Linked DNA regions of Homo sapiens: region 1 is linked to region 2. Evidence: promoter capture Hi-C in human tissues and cell types (Jung and others, 2019). All regions are on one chromosome and are shown on one strand. Each heading gives the region's core, a stretch centred on a gene start or on the middle of the fragment in contact. The rest is flanking DNA. Distances are from core to core; before and after follow the strand shown.

Region 1 (3,585 bases), core at 259-2,758, 1.1 Mb before region 2:
TCAGTTTTGTGCTCCACGCATGAAGTAGCATCCCAGAAAAAAACTGCTGTCCTATTCCACACTACACCTTAAACCCTAGCTGGATGTGTTGAACAAGTATGTTTTTGACTGCAAGAGACTGAAAAACAGAGGGAAGGAGGGAGGGAGGGAGAAGACAGAGGAAACTCAGTAATTATGTTAGTGTCTCTCTCTCTCTCTCTCTCTCTCTCTCTCTCTCTCTCTCCCTCTCTCTCTCTCATGAGACGGGGTGGAGAGTTTGGGGCAAATGATGTTGGTCTGAAAACTATGGAGAAAGTTTATCTCAGGCAGAAATGGGAAGAAGTTTGAGGCGTGATAGAAGAGTCTGCTGGGAAAAATGACTTGAAGTAGCCATGTGCTAGACACAAGGATGCACTGCCCAGCTCCCACATCAGTGAAGCCCCATTGCCCCAGCTCCTGAGAATGTCATGGGCCAATAGCCTTCAACTGTCAGCCCCTTTAGGGAGGTTTTTTTATACCCCAGTGGAACATGGAATGCCAGTGAGACAGAACCATTCACTCCCCTGGAAAGGGGGCTGAAGCTAGGGAGCCCAATGGTCTAGTTCAGCAGATCCCACGCCCATGGAGCCCAGCAAGCTAAGATCCACTGGCTTGAAATTCTCGCTGCCAGCCCAGCAGTCTGAAGTCAACCTGGGATGCTTGAGCTTGGCACAGGGAGGGGCATCTGCCATTACTGACGCTAGAGTAGGTGATTTTACCCTCACAGTGTAAACAAAGCCACCAGGAAGTTCGAACTGGGCAGAGCCCAGCGCAGCTTGGCAAAGCTGCTGTAGCCAGACTGCCTCTCAAGTTTCCTCCTCTCTGGGCAGGGCAACCCTGAAAGAAAGGCAGCAGTCCCTGTCAGGCGCTTATAGATCAAACTTCCATCTCCCTGGGACAGAGCACCTGGGGGAAGGGGTGGCTGTGGGTGCAGCTTCAGCAGACCTAAATGTTCCTGCCTGCTGGCTCTGAAGAGAGCAGCCAATCTTTCAGCACAGCATTCAAGCTCTTATCAGAGCCTCCCCAAGTGGCTCTGATCACACTGCCTCCCCAAGTGGGTCCCTGACCCCCGTGCATCCTGATAGGCAGATACCTCTCAGCAGGGGTTGACAGACACCTCATACAGGAGATCTCTGGCTGGCATTTGCTGGGTGCCCCTCTGGGACGAAGCTTCCAGAGGAAGGAAAAGGAAGCAATCTTTGCTGTTCTGCAGCCTCCGCTGGTGATACCCAGGCAAACAGGGTCTGGAGTGGACCACCAGCAAACTCCAGCAGACCTGCAGCAGAGAGGCCTTACTGTTAGAAGGAAAACTAACCAACAGAAAGGAATAGCATCAACATCAACAAAAAGGATGTCCACACAAAAACCCCATCTGAAGGTCACCAACATCAAAGGTAGATAAATCAATGAAGATGAGGAAAAACTAGCACAAAAAGGCTGAAAATTCCAAAAACCAGAACACCTCTTCTCCTCCAAAGTGTCACAACTCCTCACCAGCACGGGAACAAAACTGGACAGAGAATGAGTTTGACAAATTGACAGAAGCAGGCTTCAGAAGGTGGGTAATAACAAACTCCTCTAAGCTAAAGCAGCTTGTTCTAACCCAATACAAGGAAGCTAAGAACCTTGAAAAAAGGTTAGACGAATTGCTAACTAGAATAACCAGTTTGGAGAAGGACATAAATGACCTGATGGAGCTGAAAAACACAGCACGAGAACGTTGTGAAGCATACACAAGTATCGATAGCCGAATCAATCAAGCAAAAGAAAGGACATCAGACACTGCAGATCAACTTAATGAAATAAAGTGTGAAGGCAAGGTTAGAGAAAAAAGAATGAAAAGGAACGAACAAAGCCTCCAAGAAATACGCGAATATGTGAAAAGACCAAACCTACATTTGATTGGTGTATGTGAAAGTGACGGGGACAATGGAACCAAGTTGGAAAACACTCTTCGGGATATTATCCAGGAGAACTTCCCCAACCTAGAAAGACAGGCCAACATTTAAATTCAGGAAATACAGAGAATACCACAAAGATACTCCTCAAAAAGAGCAACCCCAAGATACAGAATCATCAGATTCACCAAGGTTGAAATGAAGAAAAAATGTTAATGGCAGCCAGAGAGAAAGGTTGGGTTATCCACAAAGGGAAGCCCATAAGACTAACAACAAAGATCAAAAGAGACAAAGAAGGCCATTACATAATGGTAAAGAGACCAATGCAACAAGAAGAGCTAACTATCCCACCCAATATGTATATATATATGCACCCAATACAGGAGCAGCCAGATTCATAAAGCAAGTTCTGAGAGACCTACAAAGAGACTTAGACTCCCACAAAATAATAGTGGGAGACTTTAACACCCCACTGTCAATATTGGATAGATCAATGGGACGGAAAATTAACAAGAATATTCAGGACTTGAACTCAGCTCTGGACCAAGCGAACCTAATAGACATCTACAGAACTCTCCACCCCAAATCAACAGAATATACATGCTTCTCAGCACCACATCACACTTATTCTAAAATTGACCACATAATTGGAAGTAAAACACTCCTTAGCAAACGCAAAACAGCAGAAATCATAACAAACAGTCTCTCAAACCACAGTGCAATCAAATTAGAACTCAGGATTAAGAAATTCACTCAAAACCACACAACCACATGGAAACTGAACAACCTACTCCTGAATGACTGCTGGGTAAATAGTGAAATTAAGGCAGAAATGAACAAGTTCTTTGAAACCAATGAGACCCAAGACACAGCATACCAGAATCTCTGGGACACAGCTAAAGCAGTGTTTAGAGGGAAATTTATAGCACGAAATGCCCACAGGAGAAAGCAGGAAAGATCTAAAATCCACACCCTAACACCACAATTAAAAGAACTAGAGAAGCAAGAGCAAACAAATTCAAAACCTAGCAGACGACAATAAATAACTAAGATTAGAACAGAACTGACGGAGATAGAGACACACACACACACACAAAAATCCTTTAAGAAATCAATGAATCCAGGAGCTGGTTTTTAGAAAAGATTAATAAAATAGATAGACTGCTAGCCAGACTAATAAAGAAGAAAAGAGAGAAGAATCAAATAGACACAATAAAATATGATAAAGGGGATATCACCAATGATCACACAGAAATACAAACTACCATCAGAGAATACTATAAACACCTCTATGCAAATAAACTAAAAAATTTAGAAGAAATGGATAAATTCCTGGACACATACACCCTCCCAAGACTAAACCAGGAAGAAGTCGAATCCCTGAAGAGACCAGTATCAAGTTCTGAAATTGAGGCAGTAATTAATAGCCTACCAACCAAGAAAAGCCCTGGGCCAGGCAGATTCACAGCCAAATTCTACTAGAGGTACCAAGAGGAGCTGGTACCATTACTTCTGAAACTATTCCAAACAATAGAAAAGGAGGGAATCCTCCCTAACTCATTTTATGAGGCCAGCATCGCCCTGATACCAAAACCTGGCAGAGACACAACAAAAAAAGAACATTTCAGGCCAATATCCTTGATGAACATCGATGCGAATATCCTCAATA
Region 2 (3,764 bases), core at 892-3,391:
ATCCTGGCTAACACGGTGAAACCCCGTCTCTACTAAAAATACAAAAAATTAGCTAGGCATAGTGATGGGCGCTTGTAGTCCCAGCTTCTCAGGAGGCTGAGCCAGGAGAATGGCGTGAACCCCGGAGGCAGAGCTTGCAGTGAGCCGAGACTGCGCCACTGCACTCCAGCCTGGGCAACAGCGCGAGACTCCGTCTCAAAAAAAAAAAAGAAAGAAAGAAAGAAAGGAGCAGAGGCTCCACTTCCGTTGCAATTGAAAAGGCAAGGGAAAAAAGGTGCAACAGATGGTTATACGTTGAGGTTAAATTCATAGGTTTGATGGGCAAGAAATGGAGAAAGTTCACATCTGATGGATCCTCTTTTTCTCCCCAGGGAAGCTTAAAGTCATTTGTTGAGCTTGAAGCGAAAGGTTTGAAAAGGGTAAAGAAGATTTAAACAATCACTGTGGAGAATGGCAGAGAACCAAGGAGGAAAATACAGAAGGCAGAACTGAAGAGTATTTACCGTCCAAGAACTGATTACAATTCCTGAAATACATCCTACTGAAACATATATCCAATGTTCCACTGTTCACCTGGGGAAGTCCTGTCTACAGTTTAAAACGTCTCCACCTAGAAAGCCTTTTCTGACATTTCCTAACCAGTTTCCAACCCCCAGTTATCATTCTCCTCTGTATTAATGCTCTACTTTATATGCAATCCTACTGCTATCTTACATCACTATATTACAGCACCTACCTTTATAGTCTACAAGATTATTTCCTCTACTAGATGGTGAACTACTTGAGGGCAAAAATTGCACGTGTATCAGGAGCAACTGCAAATATATCAGGGTCTCTGCCTTGTATCTAAAGTTTAAATTCAGTTTAGCCAAGTTTTAGACAGAGACCCGGTCCTAGAGTTTCCAACATGAAATAGTTCAGAAAACATCATTGCTTTTGACAAAAGTACATAAATTATCATGAAAAGGCACGTAATTCAGGATGACAATAAAATATTTAACAGTCAGAGAAAATAAACAATAATTTGGAACTTTATTTCATTTATTACCCACTTCGGTCTTCAAATGTGTGCATGTGCTTCTAACTGCGATGATGAATTTAAAAAACATTCTGCACCTACTGTATGCAAGATACTGCTATTCACACTGTGGGATATTAAAAAAAGTTTGCAATACAGAAGAGATTAAAACAAGTATACAAATGATTTTAGTACAAGGTAGAATGCGATGGCCACTAGAGAAAAAATTAAGAACAGGTGAGAAGGGCTTTATTTTTATGCTTATAAATGTGAACTTTATTCTGAAGGATAAGAGATTCGGGACATGGTAACTGGATTGACACAACTGAATATGCTTTTCAAGTATATTATATCTAACTTTTCTTATTTTGGGCAACTTCTCTCCAAACTGACTAGCAATAAAATCTGACTGCTAGATTCTGTACAAATGGTTAATCCCAACCTGAACAAATGTCTCAAACCCTCCCCCACGTGTCACTGTAGATAACTGCCTCATAAAGGAGGAAAAAAAAAACCAGCCTGTAAGAGGGGTCACCTGTACAGTCCATTTGTTAAAGGAGTAAGCGTTTCCAGCTCTACTTTAAAACAAGGCCCTATTTCATTATGCGTCTGCCGTCTGTTCTAGAGCTTACACTTTTGAAGAGCTCGAACGCTACACCCCTTCGTCAAGAACTGCGGCAGCAGCCGGTGGCTGCCAACGCGGTCCACAGGGTTTGGGCTCCCGAAACTTCAGGGAAGCTGGAGGCATGGGGGGGGGGGGGGTCGAGTTGAAATGAGGAACACACAGAAACCAAGTGTCCCCAAGACTCCAGAAAAGAGGGAGCCAGTCCCAGAGTAAATAGGTTGGCTAGAACAGTACCCAAGCCAGGGGGCCGGGCGGAGGGGAGTGGTCACGTCCAGACTGGAAAACTTTCTGCAAAGCAACGGGTTGGGTCCACCTCGCTGTCCAGGTGCGGAGCAGCGCAGACCCCCAACCCCACGACCTGGTCAGACCCCGTCTCCTTACCGTCCTGCAGAAGTTCCCGGACTGTAGCTGCAGCCGCTCCAGAGCCTCGAGCTCCGAGGCCAGCTACAGCGACGCTGCCGCCGCCACCTTCCATGTTGGCAGGTGCCGGGTTGATGTCGTCAGCAGCAGAACGGCTCCGCCCAGGTGGTGACGCAGAATCCCGGCGCCGCCCGCCCACCCAGCCCATGGCTCCAGGCCCACCTGGCGAACTGACTCTCAGCCCGCGCCTGGGCTAAGCCTGGCTAGGAGCCGCGCAGGTACTCGAGCAGTGGGCGCCCAGGGTCCGAGTGCTCTGCGCCCAGCGCACCGAGGGAGCCAAGGCCGTCGGGCCGGCGCTTTCAGCTGTCTCTCGCAGCAGCTCAGGGCCGCGCCCCCTGGGCTGGCGTCGTGCCCTAGCCAAGGAGAAGGTGGGCACCGGAACGTGGCCGCAGCGCTTATCTGTGAAGCAAGTATTAAACCTCAGAACAGGGGCCGCGCGGCGTAAGGCAGGAGAGCAGAGCGGAGGTTTCAGGGAGCTTCGTTTGCCCTCCACACTCACAAGAGTCACGCGTTAGTTGCTACACAGCTTTATCTGTTCCACGCCTTGATTGGCACTCCTGGGGTAATAAAAGCCCGCAGGAAATGCTTGGGAAGAAAAGTTGCTGGGGATGAACAGTGAAGAGAATTAGGGAGAGTCGATGAAGAAGGAAGTCTGAACCATAAAAGGACCAATAAAACTCACTGTCTCTACCCTCCTTCCTTCCCATGAGACCTTTGACCTTTTGCCTTTTCTACTTCTTCCTCAGTTTCAGTCACGTGCCAGACTTTTTCTTAATTACAAACTGATAGATGGTCCACATCTCAACTAACAGTATTGACGCTGTAAGAGCATCAGGTTGGTTCCCATTGTATCTTCTTTACTAATACGTTCGCGTTTTTGACCTAGATTTCTTTCTTCTAAGATAAATACTGATAAATTAACAGGGTCAGGCAACCACAAGTATGCAAGACAGTCTTAAGCTTCTTCGCAAAAAGAAGCTGGAAGATGACTTTTTCATTTTGTACAGTAGGTATGTATCCAGGAAACCAATTTTATCCAGTTCCAGAGCTACGTGGTTTTCTACATTCTGTTTCAAAAAGGTGCTATTACTTATCCTGTGCTTATCGCTGTTCTAAGTATTTTATAACTCAATGCATTTCATACTCATAACACCTCAGGTAAGCAAGTCTTATGCTACACTGCATTATGCTCTCTTTGTCTCAGAGGATTTTCCCTAGTATGTAAGATCTTAGTCATGATGGGAATAGGGGTGATTCATTCATTACTTGTGAATTAGGAATTGTTTTTCCTTCCTTGGCTTTATTCCCCCCAGTGGAAGATTTTAGAAGAGTGAGTAATATTCATTCATACAGCGAAAGTTTTGACCCCTCTACTCTGCATGCTCTCATGAGTTTACAAACATAAGACTCAATCCATATTCTAAAAGGAGTTAATAGGTAAGGTAGGAACCCATTTAAACAAACAATTGTACCAGGTGCTTTGGAATCTTTGGATTTACTTATTCCAGTAATTCCAAGCTTAGCTGCACATTGAAATCACCTGAAGAGCTTTAATAAAAACACTGATGCCTGCATCCTGAGCCCAGACGTTTGGATTTAATTGGTCTAGGGTATGGCTTGGGCATGCTAATTCTTAAAAGCTCCTCGGGTCATTGTAGTGTACAACTAAGGTAGAAAGCTACTGATTGTTTTGTTTTGTTG

The links. Contacts are between HindIII fragments. The study calls those that stand out against the background at their distance.
Region 1: a fragment that was not itself captured here is called in contact with the fragment with the promoter of COG5 in region 2 in 1 of the 25 tissues and cell types used here (lymphoblastoid cells).

What each region holds. Positions count from the first base shown.
Region 1 is chr7:106,492,494-106,496,078 of GRCh38, forward strand. No RefSeq gene overlaps it. Among named protein-coding and RNA genes, the nearest start is that of CTB-30L5.1, 100 kb to the right of the region's middle. The HindIII fragment of the contact is 3,547 bases long and covers 1-3,282 here.
Region 2 is chr7:107,561,779-107,565,542 of GRCh38, forward strand. It overlaps COG5 (component of oligomeric golgi complex 5), which reads right to left and starts at 2,142. Exons shown (of 22, transcript NM_006348.5): 1 at 2,025-2,142. The coding sequence starts at 2,118. It overlaps DUS4L-BCAP29 (DUS4L-BCAP29 readthrough), which reads left to right and starts at 2,193. Exons shown (of 13, transcript NR_163941.2): 1 at 2,193-2,431; 2 at 2,810-2,898. DUS4L (dihydrouridine synthase 4 like) reads left to right here and starts at 2,193. Exons shown (of 8, transcript NM_181581.3): 1 at 2,193-2,431; 2 at 2,810-2,898. RefSeq lists silencers at 2,021-2,231, 2,270-2,369 and enhancers at 2,070-2,189, 2,720-3,764. The HindIII fragment of the contact is 5,630 bases long and covers 1-3,302 here.